Linked DNA regions of Homo sapiens: region 2 is linked to region 1. Evidence: promoter capture Hi-C in 16 types of primary human blood cells and fetal thymus (Javierre and others, 2016). All regions are on one chromosome and are shown on one strand. Each heading gives the region's core, a stretch centred on a gene start or on the middle of the fragment in contact. The rest is flanking DNA. Distances are from core to core; before and after follow the strand shown.

The links. The method cuts DNA at HindIII sites, captures the fragments that hold promoters and counts their contacts. A CHiCAGO score of 5 or more calls a contact.
Region 2: a fragment that was not itself captured here is called in contact with the fragment with the promoter of AGAP2 in region 1 in 2 of 17 cell types (M1 macrophages and erythroblasts); the score reaches 7.6 in M1 macrophages.

What each region holds. Positions count from the first base shown.
Region 1 is chr12:57,736,085-57,743,198 of GRCh38, forward strand. It overlaps AGAP2 (ArfGAP with GTPase domain, ankyrin repeat and PH domain 2), which reads right to left and starts at 2,658. Exons shown (of 19, transcript NM_001122772.3): 1 at 995-2,658. The coding sequence starts at 2,162. RefSeq lists a silencer at 1,811-2,030 and enhancers at 5,204-5,283, 5,817-5,876. The HindIII fragment of the contact is 3,748 bases long and covers 901-4,648 here.
Region 2 is chr12:57,669,777-57,676,890 of GRCh38, forward strand. It overlaps the pseudogene RPL13AP23. Among named protein-coding and RNA genes, the nearest start is that of OS9, 21 kb to the right of the region's middle. The HindIII fragment of the contact is 216 bases long and covers 4,590-4,805 here.

The DNA.
Region 1 (7,114 bases), core at 1,408-3,907:
GCTCCTTCCGCCAGCCAGGTCCAGCCCCCGCGCCTGACACCGGCCGGACGTTCCCGGGGCGCCGCAGCTGCGGCGGGAACTCTGGGATCCGGAGCCATCTGCTCCCACCCGCTCCGGAGCCAAACCCCGGGGGCCGCCTCCGCTCCCGGACCCGCCTCCTCTCCCGGGAGTGTGAGCCGAACCAAGAGTCTCCTGCCTATCTCCTCCAGTAGGAAAATAGTAATAATAATAGACACCCTGCCCCCGTAAAAAACACTACCTTCCCCGTACCGCCTCCCAAGTCTCCCGGGGTACGGATTGCCTTTGCAGCAGTTCCGCCCCACCTGACTCACTCCAGGGTCAGCCCCGGGTGGGTTTCAATGCGGCTCTGGGGAGGGGGTGGGCAGTGGGGGAAGTGAGGCTTCCTATCCGCCCCCTCTCACTTCACATTTAAATATTCTGCACGTTCCAGCCCCCGCGGACTCGCGTACCGCCCAATCCGCCTTCACCGCACGAAAAACATCACTAGCCTGCTCTCAGCCCAGGGGACGACTAGTCCCTGGCGAGAAGCTGCCTGCAAGGTCACTGTCATGCCACCTGCCCCAAGTGCTCAGGGGAAACTGAGGCTTCCTCATCCCCTTCACCTTCAACGTCGCTCTAAACACGGCAAAGCCCCGTTTCCATGCTCCCAGAGTTCAGCTGAGGCTGGAAGTGGGGTCCTGGGCTTCTCTGGGAGCAATTTTCTAGTCACTCTGATCAAGGACGTTACTTTCCCAGAAAGCTCTGAGGCTGAGTCCCTCTGAAATCAAGTCCTTTCTCCTGTCGCACAATGTAGCTACTCGCCCCGCTTCAGGACTCCTATTCTTTGCCCCAATCCTTGACAGAGGGGTGAGCTTGGTTCATCCGCCCACCCCAGAGAAAAGCTTCCCTAGTTTCCTGGACCTCGCTCCTCCACCCCAAGCTGAGCATTCCAGGTACCCTTCCCTCCCTGTTCTCAAGCCCTGACTCAACTCACTAGGGGAAGCGCGGAGCTCGGCGCCCAGCAGCTCCCTGGACCCGCTGCCAGAAGACAGGCTGGGGGGTCCGGGAAGGGGCCCGGAGCCAGGAGGCCCTCCTGTGCTCTTGGTGAAGATGCCGCTGATAAACTTGAGCATCTTGCGGTCACGAGTGGATGCTCGGCCCCCCTCCCGGCCCCGTTTCAGCCCCGGAGCTGGAGGCTCCAGAGTGATTGGAGGTGCAGGCCCGGGGGGCTGCGCGGAAGCAGCGGTGACAGCAGTGGCTGGACTCGGAGTTGGTGGGAGGGTTAGCGGAGGAGGAGAGCCGGCAGGCGGTCCCGGATGCAAGTCACTGTTGTCCAAGGTCTTACTCTTGCCTTTCCGAGGGGACAACTTCCCTCGGGCTCCAGCCCCAGCCCCGACCCCACCAGAGGTCGAAGCTGTAGAGCCCCCTCCCCCGGCGGCGGCGGCGGTGGCGGCGGCAGAGACCGAAGCTCCAGTCCCGGCGCTGCTCTTTGACCCCTTGACCCTGGGCTTGCCCTCGCTTTCGGGCCATGACAGGCGGCTACCCGCGCCCTTGCCCCCGCCGGCTTTGGCTCCACTCGTGGTCACGGTCTTGCAAGGCTTGGGAGCCGGCGGAGGAGGCGCCACCTTGAGCCTCCGGCTGCCGGTGCCAGGGTGCGGAGAGGATGAGCCAGGGATGCCGCCGCCCGCCCGGCCTTCGGGCTCCGGGCCGCCCCAGCTCGGGCTGCTGAGCAGGGGGCGCCGGGAGGAGGTGGGGGCGCCCCCAGGCTTGGGGTCGGGGCTCAGTCCCCCGGAGAGCGGGGGTCCCGGAGGGACGGCCCAGAGGGAGAGGCGGCGGCCGGGAGCGGGGGAGACTGGGCGGGCCGGACTGGCCGGAGCCGGGGACAGGGCTGGGGGCTCCGCGCCCCCGGTGCCCGCGCTGCTCGTGCTGATCCACAGCGCATCCTGCCGGTGGAAGAGACGTTCGTGCCGCTTCTTGCCCGGCTCCTCCGCGCCTCGGGGGCTGCCAGGATCCCCAGTCTCGGAGCCTCTGGCACCGGCGGCGCCGGCCGCGGCCGCAGACGGAGAAGGCGGCGGCGGAGGCACCGACTCGAGCTTAACCAGGGTCAGCGAGATGAGGTAGGTCGTTGTCCGGCGCTGAAGCGCGCCCGCGCCCCGGCTCATGGGGCCCGGAGACCCCCGAGCTGGGGAGGGGAGGGGACTCCCCCGGACTGCCTCAGGGGGGCCCGGCCATGGGGCCGCCCTGCTCGCTGCCCCCAGCCCCCGGACCCCGCTGAGCCCCCGGCCCGGCTCCGCTGTCGCCGCCGCCTCCGCCGCCTCCGCTTGCGCCCCCCTCCCATCACATGGGGCGCCCCCTCCCCATGCTCCCCGCCCTGCGCCCCCACCCTCTTGGAGCCCCGGGACCTTGGTGCTGCTCCAGGGAGGCGCGCCGGACCGTCCACCCCGGCCTGGGTGGGGGCGCTGAGATGGGTGGGGGAGGGCGGGGAGGACAGTAGTGGGGGCAAATGGGGGAGAGAGAGGAAAAGGGAGCAGAAAAGGGGACCGGAGGCTAGGGGAAACGAACCTGTGCGGGGGAGGCAGGGGCGGGGAATTGGGACTCAAGGGACAGGGGCCGCGGATGCGGTCGGAAAGAGGGTCTAGAGGAGGGTGGGAAGCTAGTGGGGCTGGCCGTGCGGGGGATTCGCAGGGGCGCGGGGAGGATGCTGGGGATGGAGATACAGGAGGCGGCGGGGGAGGAAAGAGGGAACGGGAGGTGGGTGGGAACCCACGGGTCTGGGGTCTGGGAGGGGAGGGGCGTGAGATCCGGGCGAAGAGTCCGGGGGCCTCGCCTGGGCTCGGCTTGGTCCGGATGCGCGCTGTGTCCGGGCGCTCCCCTCACATTGAGGAGGAGGCGGCCCCCAGGCCCCCCCACCCTATCTCCCCCCCACCTTTTCTCCACCAGCACCGATGTCTGCGAGGGCGGTGCAAAATCCAGGGCTGGATTTCTCTCCCAAATCCTGGGCTGGATTTCCTGGGACTTGGACTCACCTCCTCCAACAACCTAGCCCCCTCCTCTCGCGCACCAAGGTTAGGAAGCGCGATTGTGAGGTATGGCATTTAGGGATAAGGGTGAAAATCGATCTATTGGGTGGACAGGGGCCGCGGTAAACAGAGCAAACCCAGGGTCACTGCCAATTCTGGGGAAGATGAAGTGGGAAAGTGGGGGCCCTGAAATCCCTTCCCCCAGGATCTCTTGTCTCCCCCAGGTACCTGGACGGTTCCCGTTCTCATGACCCAGCTCCCTTTCCCACTCACACCACCACATTTAATACTTTGACGGGGCCAAGACTTGAGCTCGACTGTCCCAAAGTGAACTTGGAAAATGTTCCCCAGGGATGGGGACAAACATGGAACTTAGCAGGGTAGGAGAGAAGGGAGAGATCTGAGTGCTGGAGGAGCCCAGGCCACAGGGTAAGTCAAAGGCTCCAGCTCTAGGAGGAGGGAGAAGGATGTGTCTTAGACTGATACCCCCCCATGCCAAAATGCATCCAGTCTCCATAGCAACCGTAGCTCCAAGAGTGCCTCAGAAACAGCGGGCAGAAGCAGAGAGGAATCCGTGTGTATGGTGGGTAGGGGACCAACCGCGGGATGCTGAATTAGTGGAGGCACTGCCCTGACACCTGGCTACCCACAGGTGGAGGATTTCACTCCCCAAGTATAAGGACCCTTCAGTTGAGGCAGTGAGAGCCGGCCTCTTCAGGGTTCCCTTTCAGTCTCCTGAGGTTTGCTGAGTGGGATTCTTTCAGAAGATTAAAGAGGAGGCAGGCAGAGTGAATGGAAACCGTCTGCTCCGTGTCCCCCACCCCTCTAGGGGTCTTGGAGTTCAAGGCTCTCTATCCTCCAGCCAGGTGAGAATCCTGAAGTGGTTAGGCCAAAGTGGAAAAGAGGTTGAGACCCCTTGGGGGTGGGGTAAGATGGGCGAAGGAAGGTCTCTCTGCAGCCTTGGAGACCCCTTCCCGGGACTTGGGGAGTCACAGCAGTCCCCTGATTTGGCGTCCCACCCTCCTGACGCAGCTGAGACTATAATAAGTGCTGCCGTGGGCGGCTCTTGGAGGCAGGAGCCCGCAGCGTGCTTGGCCTGGTGGGGGGCTGAGGGTGGGGGGGCTGAGCCAGGATGCCAGGAGCCCTTTGTTCTCCCAGAGGCCTGTATCCAATCCCTCCAATGTTCTGTCCTGGGGCTCAGCAGTTTCTCCCTCCCTCCCTACAGAACCAAGATGACACCATCCCCAGGACAGGAGACCCTTCAGTAGTGTTTTTTGATGGAGAGGGTGAAGGAGAATTGTTGGCTCTGGCTTAAACTTCCCTCCTTTGATGGCCTCGGTTTTCCTTTATGTTCAATGGGAACAGAATACTAATTCTTAGAGAAGGAGTAAAACAAATCACTTATGAGGAGTGAAGCCTTCTCAGGGATTTCCACCTCCACCCCTCCTCACCCTCCTCCCTCTCCAGAGCTAAGCACAGCTTTTCTGCCTGGCCTAAACCGCTCTTCTCCTTTATTATTATTATCATTATTATTTTTGAGAGGGGTGGGGCTTAGAGTTTCTCCCTAGGAGGCCCCATGGCCCACTCCCCCTTGGTCTGCCTTTCCAAACACTAAGGCTGTCAGGGGAAGCTTCAGGTGTAGTTCCTGGCAAAGGGTATGGGACAGGAGGTGAGAGGGGCACTAGCCTCCGAAGAACAATGGGAAGGGGATCATCAGACTGTCCCACTAGGCATCCAAAGCAAGCTGTTCCTTCCCCAAGTTATACTCTGGTGTACTAGCAGAGAGGTCTGGCAGGAGGTGTCCTTGAGGGAAAGAATGATCTCTTGACAACCACCCAGGTAGGCAGGTAACAATGGAGAAGACTGAAATGGCTGGAAGAGATCAGGATATGATGGAAGAAGTGTTTCCACCAGACACCTTTCATGAGCAAAGAAGGCTGCTTTTGTTAGCTCTTTGCTGCATCAGAGGTGAATGGAATGACAGCGAGCTGGAACAACCTCCAGTTCCACCAGTTCCTCAGTGGTAGGGCCTTGTGGATGGAGAGAAGCTGTTCCTGCCAGGGCTCCACCACAGGACTGAAGCCTGGGGTGGGCAGGAGGATGTGGCGGATGGTGTTGCCATGGCAGCATTTCCTCCCTGTGTTGTCATCACTTGCTCTAATGGCACTAAGGAGGTAGAGCGGAAGGTGTGTGGGGGGAAGACAGGAACAGGAGCAAGGGGAGGAGAGGGGACCAAGAAGAGTTCTGGGGACCTATCTGCACTTTGGCTCTGCAGAGCATAGTGTGTGAGAGTTAGTATGCGCTTGGGAGCCTGAGATTCTCTGCATGGTGTACTTCAATGTGCATGCGTGTGTGTGTGTGTGTATGTGTGTGCATGTGTTTCTCTCTACAGCTGGAGAACAAGAGGTCACTGATCCTTTGTGGGTCCTGGGAATGAACTCATTATCCAGTCCCAGAACCTGCTGCCCCAGACTGCTTCCTGCTCTGGACTCCCCAGGCAGGGAACAAGTCTACCATGAGTCTGTCACAGCCTATCTTCCCCATGCTCACACATTTCTTCATTGCCAAGAAGGTCAGCTCAACAGGGACCTGTATTTTGATCTCCTGGGAGAAGGATCAGAGCAGGGAAAGAGAAAGAATGATACCTCCCATGTCTTTTTCCATCCTCCCTAAATGTATTCTTTCCCAGAGTCCCATCTTGGGGACTAGGAAGTAGCTGACTGGGAATTGATATATGATACAGCTAAACCTTCTATGCACCTGCTAGTCCCTGATACACCCAAGTTGAGGGCTGACCTTTCTCTTACCTCGAATGCTGTCCAATGAGGCCTGGATGCTGTCCTGGAGTTCGGGGTCGTCCACCCTCTCTGCCAGCTTCCTGAGGCGGTTTAGAGCCTGCTTGGCCACCTCATGTCGTCTGACTTCTGCTCTCACTGCAGCTACAACGAACTGCCTCTGGGCATGCATGTTGCCCAGACCTGTCTTGCCAGGCTAACAACCACCTCTGGCCCTGAGGCCCATGGCCCTACAGCCCCCAAACCTCAGAAGGCCCCTTCTGCTGTGCCCAGAACTCCCCGCCCCTGCCCGCCCTTCCGTCTGTCGACCTCACTTCCTGACTGGTGAGTTTCAAACCCACAGCCTGGGACAGCACTACCTCCTGCACCTCCCACCCCCTCTAGTGTTGGCCCATCAACCCTGCCAGCCAGTCCCTGCTATGATTTCCCAGCCAGGTGGATGGAGAAATCTTAACAGTGTCCCAGGGCCTCCTGTGGGAGGTGGCTAATTAAGATGGGTGTTGGTTCTGGGAGAATATGGCAAGCTAGGTCCGAGGTGCAATCCTAAACTCTTGATGACCTGCGGATTTCAAACTCTCACAGGAATTCATGCACATTTGGTCTGTTACCCTCACAGCCCTGCATTCTAGTATACACTTGTACCCATTGCCCTCTCTACACATCCCAATGAGCCCTGTATCCTTATGTCTTACGATGTAACCCTTTTTCAGGCAGCTACCCACTGAGGCCACCTCCTGTTTAAAAGGGCCAAGTGAGGCCAGGCGTGGTGGCTCATGCCTGTAATCCCAGCACCTTGGGAGGCTGAGGCAGGAGAATCACTTGAACCCAGGAGGTGGAGGTTGCAGTGAGCCAAGATCACGCCACTGCACTCCAGCCTGGGTGACTAAGCGAAACTCCACGTCAAAAATAAATAAAATAAATAAATAGGCCAAGTGATTATGGGGAAAATCAGTTATGAAGGAGGAAAGTAACCTATAAAAAGACAAAAACTACCATGTTCCATGTCCAATCGCTTTCATAATAATTAACATGACTATAACACTTAATAGTTTACAACATACTTTCATATATATATTATCCTCATGACAGCCCTGAGGAGTAGGATTATTTATCCCTATTTGCATAAAAGGAAACTAAGGCTCAGAGAAGCCATTAAGAGGTGAAACAAAGACATGGATTTAGGTCTTCTGATTTTATTTTTACATTTTTATTTTTATTTTTTACCAAGCACATAAAGCCCAGATTGGTTATAATTTTGATACCCTTTTCACTACACCACACAACCAAAATGCTTGTCAA
Region 2 (7,114 bases), core at 3,448-5,947, 64 kb before region 1:
AGGCCAAGGCAGGTGGATTGCTTGAGCCCAGGAGTTTGAGACCAGCCTGGACAACATGGTGAAACCCCGTTTCCACACATACACAAAAATCCCCAAAAATTAGCCGGGTGGGGTGATGCACGCCTGCAGTCCCAGCTTCTCAGGAAGCTGAGGTGGGAGGATCTCTTTGAGCCCTGGAGGCCGAGGCTGCAGTGAGCTGAGATTGTGCCACTGCACTTCGGCCTGGACGACAGAGCGAGACCCTGTCTCTTTAAAAACAAACAAACAAACAAACAAACAAAAAACGGACATGGTGGTTCATGCCTGTAATCCCAGCACTTTGTCAGGCCGAGGGGGGCAGATCACCTGAGGTGAGGAGTTCGAGACCAGCCTGGCCAACGTGGTGAAACCCCATCTCTACTAAAAATACAAAAAATTAGCCAGGTGTGGTGGCATGTGCCTGTAGTCCCAGCTACTCGGGAGGCTGAGACAGGAGAATCACTTGAACCTGGGAGGCGGAGGTTGCAGTGTGCCAGCCTGGGTGACAAGGGCAAAACTCCATCACAAAAAAAAAAAAAAAAAAAGTGGCTCATGCCTATAATCCCAACACTTGGGGAAGTAGAGGCAGGAGGACACCTTGAGCCCAGAAGTTTGATATCGGCCTAGGCAAGATAGGAAAATCCTTTCTCTATTAGAAAACAAACAAAGAAACAAATAAAACACTACTTGCCTGTTTTTGTTTGTTTGTTTTGTGAGACGGAGTCCCAGTTGCTCAGGAGGCTGAGGCACGAGAATCAGTTGAACCCGGGAGGTGGAGGTTGCAGTAAGCCTAGATCGCACCACTGCACTCCAGCCTGGGTGACAGAGTGAGACTCCATTTCAAAACAACAACAACAACAACGACAAAAAAATAAAAACAAAAACAAAGAGTGTCCTTTGTGAAGCTGTGAAAAGTATTAATTTTGTTAAATCTCAACCCTTGAGTGAACATCTTTTGAAAATTCTGTCTAACAAAATGGGAAGTATGGGCAAAGTGCTTTTGCTCCCTACCAAAGTCTGGTTGTTTGGAAGAAAAGCACTTGTGTTATTTAGACACAAACGGAACTAGCCAATTTTTTTCCAGTGAACGCATTTTTTACTTGAAAGTATAATGAACTATGTTTATTGAGTCTTGAGTATTAGGCAGACAGTTTTACAAAAATAAACAAAGTAAGCCTGTCGCTTCAAGGAAAGCAACTTAACATTATTTGTTGGCAATGATAAAGTTAGAACTTTCAAGCAAAATAGAATTTTGTACCTGCCACCCAAGCTTGACCGTTTCCCAATACTTAAAGACTTTTCTGATGAGACTGGTGGTGATATTAAAGAATGTTATTTTAAAAACGTTGTACAGTGAAATGTGGCAACATTTGCAAGCTCTGCATAGCTCAGTGATCCAATGTTTTCCAAATGACCAATTCATTATGGATACAAAATCATGCATGGGTAAAAAAATCCAATCAAAGTGCAAGATAGATTTTCATATAACCCAGAGTGGAAAAGGCTTATTGATATAGTTTCAGATTTTACATTGCAGCTAATGTTTAAGAAACAAATATTTCAGCCTGGGCAACATTGGGAGATGCTGTCTCTACAATTTTTTTTTTTTTTTTTCAATTTAGCCAGGTGTGATGGCACCTCCTTGTAGTCTCAAGTACTCAGGAGGCTGAGGTGGAAGGATCGCTTGAGCTCAGGAGGTCAAGGCTGCAGTGAGCTATGATTGTACCACTGCCCTACGCACTCCAGCCTGGGTGTCAGAGCAAGACCCTGTCTCAAGAGAAAAGAAAGAGAAAGAAAGAAAGAAAGGAAGGAAGGAAGAAAGGGAGAGAGAGAGAAAGAAAGAACTATTTGTTGAGTGTGGTGTAATAAACAAAAGGCAACTAAATCCTGCATCATACAGTTCTTGTTTTTTGTTTTTTTAGACATGGAGTCTCACTATGTTGCCTAGGCTGGCCTCAAACTCCCGGGCTCAAGTGATCCTACTGCTTCGGCCTCTTGAGTAGCTTGGACTACAGGTACAGTGGCTCAGAATTCTTCATATAGTTTAGCCAAAATAACTTATCACAAATATATTGAATGGAGGCTGGGGGTGGTGGCTCATGCCTATAATCCCAGTGCTTTGGGAGGCTGAGGTGAGTGGATCACTTGAGCCCAGGAGTTCAAGACTAGCTGAGCAACATGGTAAAACCCCATCTCTACAAAAAATACAAAAAAATTAGCCAGGTATGGTGGTGCACGCCTGTAGTCCTAGCTACTCAGGGGGCTGAGGTGGGAGGATAACTTGAACCTGGGAGGCTGAGGCTGCAGTGAGCCATAATGGCACTACTGCACTCCAGCCTAGGCAACAGAGTGAGACTCCATCTCAAAAATAAACAGTCCGGACACGGTGGCCCATGCCTGTAATCCCAGCACTTTGGGAGGCCGAGGCAGGTGGATCATGAAGTCAAGATAGCGAGACCATCCTGACCAACACGGTGAAACCCCGTCTCTACTAAAAATACAAAAATTAGCTGGGTGTAGTGGCGGACACCTGTAGTCCCAGCTACTTGGGAGGCTGAGGCAGGAGAATTGCTTGAAACCGGGAGGTGGAGGTTGCAGTGAGCCGAGACCATGCCACTGCACTCCAGCCTGGCGACAGAGTGAGACTCCATCTCAAAAAAAAAAAAAAAAAAAAAAGGGCCGGGCGCGGTGGCTCATGCCTGTAATCCCAGCACTTTGGGAGGCCGAGGCGGACGGATCACAAGCTTAGGAGATCAAGACCATCCTGGCTAACAGGGTGAAACCCCATCTCTACTAAAAAATACAAAAAATTAGCCGGGCGTGGAGGCGGGTGCCTATAGTCCCAGCTACTTGGGAGGCTGAGGCAGGAGAATGGCGTGAACCCGGGAGGCAGAGCTTGCAGTGAGCCGAGATCGCGCCACTGCACACTCCAGCCTGGGCAATAGAGCGAGACTCCGTCTCAAAAAAAAAAAAAAAAAAAAAAGTCGGGAAGTGAACTGTGCAGCCTTCAGTCTGTGGCCAAAGGCCCAAGAGCCCCTGGCAAACCACTGGCGTAGGTCCAAGAGTCCAAAAGCTGAAGAACCTGGAGTCCAACGTTCAAGGGCAGGAAGCATCAAGCATGGGAGAAAGATGGAGGCCAGAAGACTTGGTCAGTCTAGCCCTTCCACGTTCCTCTCCTTTTATCCCAGCCACGCTGGCAGCTGATTAAATGATGCCCATCCAGATAGAGGTTGGGTCTGCCTCTGCTGGTTCACGGACTCAAATGTTAATCTCCTTTGGTAAGACCCTCACAGACACACCCAGGAACAATACTTCGCATCCTTCAATCAAGTTGATACTCAGTATTAACACACCAATTTAAAGTGTAGATTCAATGGTTTTTAGTATATTCACAGAGTTGTGCACTACAATCAGTTCTAGAACATTTTTATCACCCCCAAAAAAACTCTGCACCCGTTAGCAGTCACTACCCATTTCCCAACTTTCAGTGAGCTCCCCAGCCCAACGTAACCTCTTATCTACTTTCTGTCCATTGAATTACCTATTCTGGGCATTTCATATAAATGTAATCACACAATATGTGGTTTTGAAGACTAGCTTTGTTCACTTAGCCTCTTTTATCCTCTTTTCTCTTTTTTTTTGAGATGGAGTCCTGCTCTGTCACCCAGGCTGGAGTGCAGTGGCGCAATTTCAGCTCACCGCAACCTTGGCTGGCCTCCCGGGTTCAAGCAATTCTCCTGCCTCAGCCTCCCAAGTAGCTGAGATTATAGGCACCCGCCACCATGCTCGACTAATTTTTTTTTGTATTTTTAGTAGAATGTGGTTTCACCATGTTGGCCAGGCTGGTCTCGAACTCCTGGCCTCAGGTGATCCGCCCGCCTTGGCCTCCCAAGGTGCTGGGATTACACGCATGAGCCACCGCACCTGGCCTAGAGTATATGTTTTGTACTTCTTTGCTACGTGTGTTTCTAATTATTTTATTCTTTTTGACGGTATTGCAAATGAAATTATGTTCTTTTGTTCTTAGATTGTTCATTGCAAGTGTATAGAAATACAATTGATTCTTGTATTCTGCAACCTTGTTGAATTCTTCTATTAGTTCTAATAGATTTTTTAGTGAATTCCTTAGGATATTTTAGATATAAGGTCATCTGCAAATAGAGATGGTTTTGTTTTTCTCTCCAATCTGTATGCCTTTTACATTCATTCATTCATCTACATACAACATTCATCTTCTTGCCTAATTACACTGGCTAGAATGTCCGGTACAATGTCAAATAGAAATGGTAAGAGTAGGTATTCTTGTCTTATTCCTAATATTAGAGAGAGTAATCATTCATTTTTTACCAAAAAGTATGATATTAGTTGTGGGTTTTTTGTAGATGCTTGATGACTTTTATCAGGTTGATTAAGTCCCTTTATCTTCCTGGTTTATTAAATGTTTTTATCATGAAGAGATGTTGAATTTTGTCAAATGTCTTTTCTGTGTCTACTAAGATGACCATGTGGTTTTTGTCCTTTAGTCTATGGATAGGATGTACAACATTAATTTTATTTCTTATGTTAACTCAAGCTTTCATTCCTGGGATAAATCCCACTTGGTCGTGGTATATAATCCTTTTTATTTGTTGTTGAATTCATGGTAATTTGTGGAGAATTTCTGGGTCTATATTCATAAGAAATAGTCTACAGTTTTCTTGTATTGTGTTTGTCTGATTTTGGTATCTGAGTAGTATTACCTCATTGAATGGGCTTGGAAGAGCTTCATTTTCTTCTATTTTTGGAAAAGCTTGTGAAGAAATAGTATTGACATTTTCTTCATGGGAAGTTTCTGATTTATAATTCAATCTTTTCTAGGAGGCTGCTGAAGATGGCGGAGGGGCAGGTCCTAGTGCTCGATGGCCGAGGTCACCTCCTGGGCTGCCTGGCGGCCATCGTGGCTAAGCAGGTGCTGCTGGGCCGGAAGGTGGTGATCGTGCGCTGCGAGGGCATCGACATTTCTGGCAATTTCTACGGAAACAAGTTGAAGTACCTGGCTTTCCTCCGCAAGCGGATGAACACCAGCCCTTCCCGAGGCCCCACGTCTTCTGGCAGAGCTTGCGAGCCGGGCCGCCCCACGACAGCAGCCAGCCAGGCCGCCTAGGACCTGCCGCCAGGTGTTCGGTGGCGTCCCACCGCCCCGTGAGAGGAAAAAGCGGATGGTGCTTCCTGTTGCCCCCAAGGTTGTGCGTCTGAAGCCTACGAGAAAGTTCGCCTACCTGGGGTACCTGGCTCACGAGATTGGCTGAAAGTACCAGACCGTGACAGCCACCCTGGAGGAGAAGGGGAAGGAGAAAGCCAAGATCCAGGACCAGAAGAAACAACTCCTGAGGCTATGGAGACAGGCCGAAAAGAATGTGGAGAAGAAAATTGACAAATACAGGGAGGTCCTCAAGGCCCACGGACTCCTGGCCTGAGCCCGGTAAAGACTGTTTATTACTTATGCTTGGCCTGGCCTGCCCTTCCTCCATCGTGGCCCTGGAATGTGGGAGACCCAGGGGCAGCAGTCCAGGTGCCACAGGCAGCCTGGGACTTAGGAAGCTTGGGAGCAAGGAAAGGGTCTTAGTCACTGCCTTTCAATAAGGTTACTTAAAGCCCTCGAAGAATTGTGCAGGCATAATTCATCTGTGACCAATAGAGCAACAAATTACTTCAGTTTCAATATCAGCGAAAGGGAGCTGGAACACTAATTGGAGGGGCCCTACCTTGTGAGCAGGGCATCTGTTTAACTTCCCAACTAGTCATACACTATACTTTGCAGCTGTTAGAATGTGAACAAGCGCTTGGGGGACAGCATTAGCTTGCTGTTGTACGAAGGGTATTTATAAAAGCACAGACTGGGAAGATGTGTGATCAAGGAGTTACAGGCATTGCCCGTGCTTCTTGCCTGTATTTTGTGATCGGAATCAAATAAATTACTTTTATTCCTTTTTTTTTTTTTTTTTGAGACGGAGTCTCGCTCTGTCGCCCAGGCTGGAGTGCAGTGGCGCGATCTCGGCTTACTGCAAGCTCCGCCTCCTGGATTCACACCATTCTCCCGTCTCAGCCTCCGGAGTAGCTGGGACTGCAGGCACCCGCCACCATGCCCAGCTGATTTTTTGTATTTTCAGTAGAGACGGGGATTTCACCGTGTTAGCCAGGAAGGTCTCGATCTCCTGACCTCGTGATCTGCCCACCTCGGCCTCCCAAAGTGCTGGGATTACAGGCATGAGCCACGAAGCCCCGCCGATATTCTTTTTGATGATAGATACAAGTATTTCCTGAAATCAGTGGCCTCATAACTGGTATTTATTTCTCATTTCATTTTTCCCTTGATCAATTTGAAGTTATATAATTCTATGTCCAGACTTTTACTGGTTACCTACAACACAAACCTTTCATTTATCAAAATATGAAGTTAATCAATATTATTTGTATCAATAAGAGTTCATTCAGGAAAACAAAAGTAACACTAGATGCTTCAATACAAAATGCAGTGCAGGGAGTTGATTAAATAAGCGTTGGAGGAATGAAAAAGCAAAGGGAAACATTGAGGTAACATAGAGATAAAATCTGCAAGGAGCAGCTACCACCTTTGGAGCTGGGGAAACAAAGGGAAGAGGCTGGGGTTATCTAAACCAAAAGTTCAGATAAAGGACCTAACAGAGCTGAGGCTTAGGCCTCTGAGGATGGGGATGTTTCCTGATTGGTGCTGGATGTCTAAGAGGGCACAATGAGTCTGGTTCTGGGAGAGCTGAGAGAAGCTTGAGGCTGAACTAACTTCTGATGCTAGGCCAACACTGACAGGCATAGCAAGCAAAGAGGAAAATGAAAGTCACTTTTCTTTCAGTTTTCCAGTCTCCCTTAACACTCCTATTGATAGAAACTAAGAGGGAGCCAGTTGACAGGAAAGAAATGTGAATAAAACTGTCTTTGTTCACAGATGACATGATTGTCTATGTAGAAATTCCAAAAGAATTAACAAAAAATTTCTGAAACTAATAATGATTATAGCAAATTTGTAGGATACAGGTTAATATAAAAAAGTACATTGCTTTTCTTTATACCAGCAATGAGC